Linked DNA regions of Homo sapiens: regions 2, 3 and 4 are each linked to region 1. Evidence: promoter capture Hi-C in human tissues and cell types (Jung and others, 2019). All regions are on one chromosome and are shown on one strand. The core of a region is centred on a gene start or on the middle of the fragment in contact, and the rest is flanking DNA. Distances in the headings are between cores, read along the strand shown.

Region 1 (2,721 bases), core at 69-2,568:
CCCTACTCCCATAGGCTCACAGGAATCTTCCCTGCCAGATCACACCCTTCCAAGGAAACCAAGCAGACAATCCGATCCGCCCAGGGAGTGGCCCAGCCCTGCCCAGCCCCCTGCTTCCAGGAGAGACCTAATGGCTGGCAGCGGACAATGTGGCGACCAGGGGCAGGAGCCCTGGAATCACCCAGGCCCAGCTTCGATTCTAACTCTGCCTTCAGCAGAAGCTTCTGAGCCTCATTTTTCCCGTCTGTAAAGTAGGTTCATCTTGAGCACTCACTTCACAAGATTGCAGCAGGAGTGAAATACGACCGGGCACACAGGGCGTGGAGCACAGTGTGAGCCCTCATTAAACATTAACCGACATTATGATGATTTGAGAGGCGGTCGGCCAGAGCAGGGCTCTGGGCCAGAACTCCGGAGTTAGAATCCCAGCGCACAACTTATGCATCGGGTGACCTTGTGCAAATCACTTAACCTCTTAATACCAGGTTAAGACCCCCTAAGACTATAGTGAGGACTGAATAAGCTCATACAAGTAAAGCGTTAAAAAGAGGGTCTAGCCCATAGTGTTTCATGAGTGTTTGCCATTATTATTTGTGGGAGGGTTCCCCCTTCTCCTGTCACCAGGAAGCATCTCTGACCCGGCCCCCCCCCCCCCCCCCGTCCCCCGCAATACGCCCTCCTTGGGTTTTAATTTTTGACTCTGGGAAACAGCTGCCCCGCTGTCAGATTCTCACCTTTGTACCTTCTAGGCACGCCCCAGCTTTGAACCCCTAAAAGACGCCCCCGAACCTAAAACTCATTCATCTGCTCCGCTAGGGGCAGCTTTAAACCTCCAACCTGGCGCCCCTGGGGCTGTGACCTCTGACCCTCGTGGGGGCAGCCTTCCCTCAAATTATTAACTTTGACCCTGCCTTTTTTGAGACTCGCCCAGAACCCCTCGAACGCGCCCCCACTTCGAATTTCAAACTTTGCACTCCCCTTCGCCACGCCCCCTTCGCTGGTTTGATCTCCGACCTCCACTACAACTCCCTCCAGTCTGCGTTAACCCCCGACCCCTCGGACGCGACCCTTCCCTCCACCAGTGACCTTTGACCCCGGCGGCCCCGCCCCCCTCCTCGCGGAAACGCCGTCCCGCCGCCAGCGCCCGGCCCACCGCAAGCCCCTGGCCGGACCCCTTATCCTACCGGCTCGGCGCCGCAGTCGCTCGCGGCCTAACTGCTCGACCTGGAACTCCGCGCCCTCGCGCCTCCCTCAGCTCTCTTGCACCGCCACCACCGCGGACACTCCCGCCGCCATGTTGAATCCCCAACGAACATCCGGGGCTTTCCCCCCTCACCGCCCACCAGTCCCCATAGCAACGAGGCTGACCGGGCAGTGGGCAGGGCCAGTGCGGGGGCGGAGTCGGGCGCCTCTCAGGGCCCGCTCCAGCCTCCGATTGGTACAGAGCGTCCAATCGGAGACCTTCGGGCAGAAAATGCCAAGCGGGGATTGGAAATTTTGGAAAAGGTGCGGGAAGGCTGGCTCCCGGCCCACTGAGGTCCTTAAAGGGGAAATGACTGTTTTCGTGTGATACCGATTTTCTAACTTCCCCCCCAGAAGGAGTTAGGGGCTGGGAGAAAGTAATGAGTTAATGGGCAGAAACAGTTCTTAAGCACTTACTAGGAGGCAGGCACCGGGATAAGTGTTTTACTTGCATTTTCTCGCTGCATATACAACCCTGTGGTATAATATCATTAATACCCATTTTACAGATAAAGAAACAGAGGTTCAGAGGGTGAAATAGCTGGCTTAGCATCATAGAAAGAAGGTAATGAGTTTTGAACGCTGGTCTGTCTGAGCCCGGGAACCTGAGACTGTTTGCTCTTCAATTTTTAAATAAGTTTTTACGAAGTAATTGGTCAAAATATTGAAAACAAACAGCAGACATCTTCTTTAAAAATTTTTTTAAATTTTATTTTTACTTATTTATTTGTCTTGAGATAGAGTTTCGCTCTTGTTGCCCAGGCTGGAGTGCAATGGCGCGATCTCAGCTCACTGCAACCTCCGCCTCCCGGGTTCAAGAGATTCTCCTGCCTCAGCCTCCTGAGTAGCTGGAATTACAGGCGTCCACCACCACACCCAGCTAATTTTTTGTATTTTTAGTAGAGACAGCGTTTCACCATGTTGGCCAGGTCGAACTCCTGACCTCAGGTGATCTATCCGCCTCGGCCTCCCAGAGTGCTGGGATTACACGTGTGAGCCACCAAGCTGGCCTTTTTCTTTTATTTTTAAAGAGAGAGTTTTGTTGTGTTGGCCAGGCTGGTCTCGAACTCCTGGGCTCAAACTATACTCCTGCCTCGGCCTCCCAAAGTGCTGGGATTGCAGGCGTGAGCCACTGCGCCCGGCCAGACATCTCTCCTCCTGGATCTTATTCACTGGACTCCAGCCTTCATGCTGTTCCTGAACTCTTGTCAGGTGCGCTCTCACCTCACAGTCTTTGCACTGGTTGTTCCTCTGCCTGGAACATACTCTTCCCCCAGGTATCCTTATCTCTCCCTCCCTTTTTTCAGGGCTTTACACAGATGTCACTTTCTCTGTGAACTAATTCCCTCGCTCACCCTAAGGAAAGCAGCAAACATCCCTCTCACATACTACCAAACTCTGTCTGCTTTGTTCTTATTTCTCACTCCTAATTGTAGTTATTGCTTGTTGGTTGTCTCCTCTGCTGGAATGTCAGCCCCA
Region 2 (2,721 bases), core at 155-2,654, 190 kb after region 1:
TTTCACTGGAAAGTATTGCCACAAGGCATGTTAAACAGCCCAACAATTTGCCAGACTTATGTAGGGCAAGCAATTGAACCTACTCGTTAAAAGTTTTCACAGTGTTACATTATTCATTATATGGATGATATACTTTGTGCTGCCCCCACTCGAGAAGTATTACTCCAATGTTATGATCACTTACAAAATTCGATTTCTTGCGCTGGTTTAATTATAGCTCCTGACAAAATTCAGACTACTACTCCTTACTCCTACTTGGGGACCTTAGTAAATGACACTACCATTGTGCCACAGAAAGCAACCATACATAGGAATCAATTGAAAACATTAAAGGACTTTCAAAAATTACTAGGGGACATTAATTGGATACGACCTGCTCTAGGCATTCCTACCTATGCCATGAGTAATCTATTTTCTATCCTTAGAGGAGATCCTGGTCTCACAAGCCCTCGGTAATTAACAAGAGAAGCTGAGGCAGAGCTGCGGCTAATCGAAAAGCAAGTCCATAAAGCTCAAATAAATAGATTAGATCCAGAGAAGACTCTAGATTTGCTAATTTTTCCAACTCAGCATTCACCTACTGGTGTTATTGTTCAAGAGTGAGATCTTGTAGAGTGGCTTTTTCTTCCACATACTAATTCACGGACTCTAACTCCTTATTTGGATCAAATTGCTACTATGATAGGAAATGGGAGAACTCGGATTGTTAAATTACATGGATATGATCCTGGAAAAATTATTATCCCTCTCACAAAGGCACAAATACAGCAAGCTTTTATAAATAGTCTTACTTGGCAAACCAATTAAGCTGACTTTGTGGGTATTCTCGATAACCATTTTCCTAAACAAAACTGTTTTAATTTTTGAAATTAACTAATTGGATTCTCCCTAAAATAACTAAATTTAAACCAATTGAAGGTGCTGAAAATGTTTTTACAGATGGGTCTAGTAATGGTAAAGCTTCTTATTCTGGCTCAAAAAGTAAAGTTTTTCAGATGCCCTATACTTCAGCTCAAAAAGTGGAGCCTGTAGCTGTAATTGAGGTAGTGACTGCTTTTCATATGCCTATTAATGTGATTTCTGACTCTTCATACGTGATTCATTCCACACAATTAACTGAAAATGCTCAGTTACAATTTCCTGCAGATGAACAACTGATGATTTTATTTACCCAACTGCAAACAGCAGTTAGGAGTAGAATGCACCCTTTTTACATCACTCACATTAGGGCTCATACACCTCTTCCAGGCGTCACCTTTTGCAGTGTTTTGCAGTGATGGGCATTCCAGCTTCTATTAAAACAGATAAAGCCCCAGGCTACACTAGCCGAGCTCTAGCTACATTTTTCTCTATACGGAATATTAAACACATTACTGGTATCCCATATAATTCTCAAGGACAAGCCATAGTGGAAAGAATGAATCTCTCCCTGAAACAGCAGTTGCAAAAGCAAAAAAAAGGGGGGAAAACAAGGACTACGGGACACCCCATATGCAACTGAATCTAGCATTGTTAACTTTAAATTTTTTGAGCCTGCCTAAAGGCCAGATCCTATCAGTAGCTGAACAGCATCTACAGAAACCAGCTGCAAAGACAGAAGCAGAACAACTAGTTTGGTGGAGAGATCCAATAACAAAAAGTTAGGAAATAGGTAAAATAATAACTTGGGGTAGAGGTTATGCTTGTGTTTCTCCAGGACTGACTCAACAGCCGATTTGGATACCATCAAGACACCTGAAACCTTATCATGAGCCAGATGCTGAGGAAGAGATTCCGGGAGGAAACTGAGGACCCCCCCCACCCCCGGTTGCAGCCATGTCGAGACTGACGCTGAGGAAGACCCCAACTGTCACGAGCAACACCTGTCAAACACAGCCACCCACCTGGAGACAGATCAAGAAGCTGTCACAGATGGTGGAAGAAAACCTGAGGAAAGTGGGACAACCAGTCGCAATGAGTAATTTAATGGTAGCTATGATAGCGATGATCACCACTGCCATGAGTATTCCTTCAATAAGGGCTGACACAGAGGACAATTATACTTATTGGGCATATTTATCAATCTTGGCTGGCAATAATGCCTGGATGTAATCACTCTATGACACAGTTATACAAGCTTTCTGATCTCATAATAAATCTGCTCCTATAATTGAGGCATACTGCCCTCAAAAACATATTTGTAAACAGGATTGGACCCAGTTAGCAAAAATGAACGTACTTGTTTAGGAAGATTGCTTTGCAGAACAGGCAGAGGTGCTGCACAACAATTCCTATGGAATCATTATTAATTGGTCACCTATGGGGATGTTTAGCTTGAACTGCACCTCTCAGTCTGCATGCCATGGCCACACTGTGATCAGCTCATCTGAACAAAATGGTCAGATGATAGAAATGGTAAGAAATACAGCAAGAGTTCCTATTATCTGGAACCATGGCAGTATAGTGGCACCTCAGCCTCAAATGATATGGCCTGCTCTAGGAGCTAAACATAAGCATTTGTGGAAACTGTTAATAGCTCTTAATAAAATCAAAATTTGGGAAAGAATAAAAAAGCATCTAGAAGGCCACTCTACAAACTTGTATTTGGATATTGCAAAATTGAAAGAACAAATATTTAAAGTATCCCAGGCACACGTGAACTTAATGCCAGGAACTGGAGTGCTTGAAGGAGCTGCAGACAGATTAGCAGCTAGTAACCCATTCAAATGGATAAAAACACTT
Region 3 (2,721 bases), core at 81-2,580, 130 kb after region 1:
GAAACCACCAGATCACCCACAAATGGACAGGAAGCAGAGAAGGGCTTTGGCCAGGCGGAGGTTGGTCTCTGCTCTGCCACTCTTTGCCTGGAAAACCCTGAAAAGGTATTTTTTCCCTCTGAGCCTGTTTCCCCGTCTGTAAACTGTTTCCCCATCTGTAAACAAAGAGAGGTGATGATATTCAAGAGGCTTAAAAACAGCACAGTGCGGCCGGGCATGGTGGCTCATGCCTGTAATCCCAGCACTTTGGGAGGCTGAGACAGGCAGATCAGCTGAGGTCAGGAGTTCAAGACCTGCCCAGCCAACACAATGAAACCCTGTCTCTACTAAAAACATGAAAAGTAGCCGGGTGTGGTGGCAGGCACCTGTAATCCTAGCTACTTAGGGGACCATGGCAAGGAGAATCAGTTGAACCCGGGAGACAGAGGTTGCAGTGAACTGAGATCGTGCCATTGCACTCCAGCCTGGGCAACAGAGCAAGATTCTGTTTCAAATAAATAAATTAATTCATTAAATAAAATAAACAACACAGCCCAACCAAGCAGAATGGGGTGGGGTGGGGGTCTTGAGCCATGAACAATCTGGGCCGAGCTGTCCCGCATTGGTGGATGATGACAAGGACTAAGTGAAATTCCTGGGTCCGGGGTGAGCCACTGTGATGATTCTCACCCAGGTCACTGTCCAGAGGCTGCATTCTTGGCCAATTCTCTTGGAGGTCCGCCAGCTCCTCGTGGCACCAGCTGGGAAGAGGAAGGAGGGAAGGAGATGGGCAGGAGAGGAGGTGGAAGAAGGGCGGGTTTCATTCTCAGGCTCTGAAGCCCAGGGCTGGTGAGGCAGGGGTCGGGCACTCACTCAGTAAGTCACAAAGCAGGTCTGGGAGCCTGCGAGGGTCCCTTCTCCCCAACATGTCATTGCCACAGTGCTGCAGATCCCAGGCGTCCTCTGCAGGACCAGGGAGTAAGGGAGGCACCAGCCCCGGGCCACACACCCTTACTGGCCGGGCTGTGCCTGTCCCTGCTACTTGGACTTAGTAGCCTTGACCCTGTCCTTGGGAAAGGCTTTGAGCCCTTCCATGATTACATCATCATCCCTGGAGGAACACTGCAAAGTCTTAGCTCCCCTCCTTCCAGTCATCCCTGCCAGGCTCTGGCTGCCCCGTGGTCACCCGGCCACACTCCCAGACTTCTCCAGGGCAGTAAAGAACTCAAGCTAAGTCTTGAAGAGGTAGAACCTAGAATGATAATTTTCAATTTTTAGATCATGACCAACGGATAAAAGTCACAACCAGCACAATTTTTAAAAAATGAAATTCAATAGAAAACATCAGAGTGCACTGCACACAGCAACGGGTAAACATTGCTGCAGAAATTCTACTTTCAGGTGTATTGATTGTTGTGTAAAATACATTTCTTTTTTTTTTTTTTTTAGATGGAATCTTACTCTCTCACCCAGGCTGGAGTGCAATGGCACAATCTCAGCTCACTGCAATCTCTGCCTCCCAGGTTCAAACAATTGTCCTGCCTCACCCTCCCGAGTAGCTAGGATTACAGTCGCCCGCCACCACACCTGTCTAATTTTTGTATTTTTGTAGAGACAGGGTCTCACCATGTTGGCCAGGCTGGTCTTGAACTCCTAACCTCAGGTGATCCACCCACCTCGGCCTCCCAAAGTGCTGGGAGTACAGGTGTGAGCCACCGCACCCGGCCAGAATGCATTTCTTACTCAGACTATGGTTACAAAATGTAGAGAAACATTGGCCTTGAAGTTCATAGCACATACCCAGAAAGATTTTGCAACCTTCTGAACCTATTCAGATTCCGCACGCCATCTTCAGGGAGCGGCACTCTTATTTCACCAGCTGCCAGACCCAAGAGCCTGGCCTTGTCCTGGACTCCTGTCTCTCCCCATTTCTCACACCAAATCCAGTCCAGCAGCAAATCCTTTTATCTTTCCTTCAAAGGACATTCAGAACACGCCTGACTTCTGCCATCATCCCTCAGACAGGATCATCCCGCAGCTGGGTTATCACTCCTCCACCTTCGAGACAGCAGAACCCTAAGAGAGCGCACTGCACATAACAGGTGTTAGGCTGGGCGTGGTGGCAAACACCTGTAATCCCAGCACTCTGGGAGGCTGAGGCAGGAGGATCACTTGAGCCCGGGAGTTCAAGACCAGCCTGGGCAACATAGTGAAACTCTGTCTCTATTAAAAAAATAAAAATAAAAAAATTAGCTGAGTGTGGTGGTGTGCACCTGTAATCCCAGTTACTTAGGAGGCTGAGGCAGTAGGAATGCTTGAGTGTAGGCGTTGGAGGCTGCAGTGAGCTATGATGGCACCACTGCACTCCAGCCTGGGCAACAGAGTGAGACCCTGTCTGAAAGAAAGGAAGAAAGAAAGAAAGAAAGAAAGAGAGAGAGAGACAGAGAGAGAAAGAAAGAAAGAGAGAGAAAGAGAGAGAGAAAAAAGAAAGGAAAGAAAGAAAGAAAGAAAGAAAGAAAGCAAGAAAGAAGGAAAGAAAGAAGGAGAAAGAGAGAGAGGGAGGGAGAGAGGGAGGGAGGGAGAGAGGGAGGGAGGGAGGGCTGCATGCAGTAGGCGCTCATCTGTGGATTGACTGGTGGCAGGGCTGGGCTTGGAGATTGCTTGGCCAGCCTCCTCCCTCTGTCCCCCTCCAGCCTGCCCAGAGCCTGTTATTTGATCTCCCCCAACATGGGCTCCTCGCCT
Region 4 (2,721 bases), core at 154-2,653, 130 kb before region 1:
CAGGCGTCTATATGTGTGCCAAGTGTGGCTATGAGCTGTTTCCCAGCCGCTCAAAGTACACATACTCATTCCCCTGGCCGGTGTTCACCAAGACCATCCGTTCTGACAGCGTGGCCAAGCGCCCAGAGCACAATCATCCTGAAGTCTTGAAGGTGTCTCGTGCAAGTGTGGCAACACGTTGAGCCACAAGTTCCTGAACGATGGCCCCAAGCTGCGGCAGTCCCGATTCTGAATGAATATTCAGCAGCTCGCTGAAGTTTGTCCCTAAAGGCAAAGAAACTTCTGCTTCCCAGGCGCACTAGGCGGGCAGCCCACACCGACCCCAGATGGCCACGGCACTAAGGCCACACACTGGCCATTCTACCATGGAATTCGAGACCTGGACATTGAGACAGGAAGGCAGGGCACAATGGCTGAAACATCAAGGCTCCCAAGGCCGCAGCTCTGAACAAGATCTTGTTTCTTGGAAAAGTCACTTATTTGCTGATGGTTCCTGCCTTCTGCTAGGACAGGCTTGGGCTGTGTGGCCACACTGTCGGCTGACTTAGCCTCCTGCTCACCTGATAAGGCATCTCAGGGGTGTGGTCTGGGCGTGGCTGGTCTTTGAATGATGTTACGCCCGACCTTCGACCTTTCCTTCCCGGTCCTGCCTCTGGACTCACCCCTGTGGGGCCCAATTTCAAGACAGACTCTCATCCTCACCAAAGCTTAGGCCCACATCTCCCAGGCTGCTTACGAGACAGAATGGAAATGGAGGCTGCCCTTGACAGCTGCCCCGGCTCTGGTCGCCACATGATCCGCTGTGGTTAAACCCTTCCAGACCAGCCAGGTGATGATGGTCCGTGACCCACCAGGAAAGCAGGCTGATGGGGCAGACCCCTGGCCTCTTGTCCAAGAGGGGAGAAACCTAAACCCTGTTTCACAACCTGCGCAGAAGTAGCTTGGGTCACTCGGGCTTAGGAAAGCGGCTGTTGCTTCATTACTTTACCCAGCATGGGGCTGGGGGCCTGCAGTTCACCTGCAGAGAGCTCCCCAAGATATGACTGTGTGTCTTACTGTACATGCTCGGAGGTCTTCCCACAGGTGAAGGTGGGCGATGCTGAAATCACCCCCCCACCCATCTTAAGCATCTTAAGTAATTACCTTCTGGAGTAATCAGGCGGAAATCAATAAACAAATGAAACGTGCAAAAAAAAAAAAAAAAAAAAGAATGCAAAGAGTTACTGTGTACCCTTTACCCAGTTTCCCCCAATGGTAACATCTTGCGAAAACCATGGTATTATATCACATAGAGAATATTGACATTGTGTATTAGTCCATTCTTATACTGCTATGAAGATGCTACCTGAGACTGGGTAATTTATAAAGGAAAGAGGTTTAATTGACTCGCAGTTCTGCATGGTTGGGGAGGCCTCAGGAAATTTACAATTATGATGGAAGGGAAAGCAGGCACCTCTTACATGGTGGCAGGAGAGAGAGACAGTGAAAGAAGGAGGAACTTCCAAATACTTAAAACACCATCAGATCTCGTGAGAACTCACTCACTATCACAAGGACAGCATGGGGGAACCACCCCCATGATCAGATCCAATCACTTCCCACCAGGTCTGTCCCTCAACACCTGGGGATTACAATTCAAGATGAGATTTAGGTGGGCACCCAAAGCCTAACCATATCACATTGATACAGACAAGATACAAAACACTCCATACCACAAGATCCCTTGTGTTGCCCTTTCAGTAGCCACGTCCACTCCTCTCCCATCCGACCCCTTCCTTAACCTCTGTCAACCACTAATCTGCTCTCCATTTCTATAATTTTGTCATCTCAAGAATGTTGGAATGGAAACATACCAGCCTGGCCAACAAAGTGAGACTGCATCTCTGGGGAAAAAAAGAAAAGTTAGCTGGGCCTGGTGGCACGTGCCTACTACAGGTAGCTGGCGCCCCAGCTACTTGTGAGGCTGGGGTGGGAGGATGGCTTGAGCCTGGGTGATGGAGGCTGCAGTGAGTGGCGATTGTGCCACTACTATGCTCCAGCTTGGGCTACAGACTGAGACCATGTCCAAAAAAACAAAAACAAAAAGCAACCTCTGCTCTGCAAAAGACACTGTTGAGGAAATGAAAAACCTGCCACCCTACCAATCAGGGGTTGGTTATTAAATGATCCTGCTGGAATGGAAGCTCTAATAGTGGTGTGGGGGTGGGGGATGTCTTCCGTTTGCCCCTCCTTATCTACTGTCCCTGCTTCTCCAACCTACTCTGGGCCCCAGGTAGAGGGGAGAGGAGGTCAGGTGTTTTTTCCCCAGGGCTCCTCCCTGTGCTGGGCCACCACAATTCATCTGTTTCCTCCACAAATCTAAGTGACTCTCTCCTCCCCAAGTCAGGCAACCACATGCACACCCTCAACCCTCTCCCCTTCCTTTAGGCCTGTGGATGAGGCCCCTCACCCATGCTGGCCCCAGGAGCTTGCACTAGCTCTTGTCATTTGCCTTTACTATCCAATCGCTTTATAAAGGCTTCTGGTATCAACCCCACCTCAAATTATCCTAAATTGACGGGCCATCTGTTTCCTGCTGGGCCCTAACTGATACGCTATAATTAAAGATGTGGGAGAATGCAAATGAGAGATAATGGTAAGACATAAAAAGCCAGCTACCAAACTGTATACAGCATGGTTCCAATTTGGGTGAAATTGCTCACAGAAAGGAAAACAAAAGGA

What was found. Contacts are between HindIII fragments. The study calls those that stand out against the background at their distance.
Region 2: a fragment that was not itself captured here is called in contact with the fragment with the promoter of PAK4 in region 1 in 1 of the 25 tissues and cell types used here (dorsolateral prefrontal cortex).
Region 3: a fragment that was not itself captured here is called in contact with the fragment with the promoter of PAK4 in region 1 in 1 of the 25 tissues and cell types used here (IMR-90 fibroblasts).
Region 4: a contact is called between a fragment that was not itself captured here and the fragment with the promoter of PAK4 in region 1, in 7 of the 25 tissues and cell types used here (H1 embryonic stem cells, IMR-90 fibroblasts, bladder and 4 more).

The regions. Positions count from the first base shown.
Region 1 is chr19:39,124,383-39,127,103 of GRCh38, reverse strand. PAK4 (p21 (RAC1) activated kinase 4) reads right to left here and starts at 1,318. Exons shown (of 10, transcript NM_005884.5): 1 at 1,185-1,318. The HindIII fragment of the contact is 13,366 bases long and covers 1-2,721 here.
Region 2 is chr19:38,935,828-38,938,548 of GRCh38, reverse strand. It overlaps LOC124904713 (a long non-coding RNA gene), which reads left to right. Exons shown (of 2, transcript XR_007067253.1): 2 at 1,697-2,721. Among named protein-coding and RNA genes, the nearest start is that of MRPS12, 6.2 kb to the right of the region's middle. The HindIII fragment of the contact is 4,061 bases long and covers 1-2,721 here.
Region 3 is chr19:38,989,469-38,992,189 of GRCh38, reverse strand. No RefSeq gene overlaps it. Among named protein-coding and RNA genes, the nearest start is that of FBXO17, 15 kb to the right of the region's middle. The HindIII fragment of the contact is 7,056 bases long and covers 1-2,721 here.
Region 4 is chr19:39,252,497-39,255,217 of GRCh38, reverse strand. It overlaps the pseudogene MSRB1P1. Among named protein-coding and RNA genes, the nearest start is that of IFNL3, 8.9 kb to the right of the region's middle. The HindIII fragment of the contact is 6,715 bases long and covers 1-2,721 here.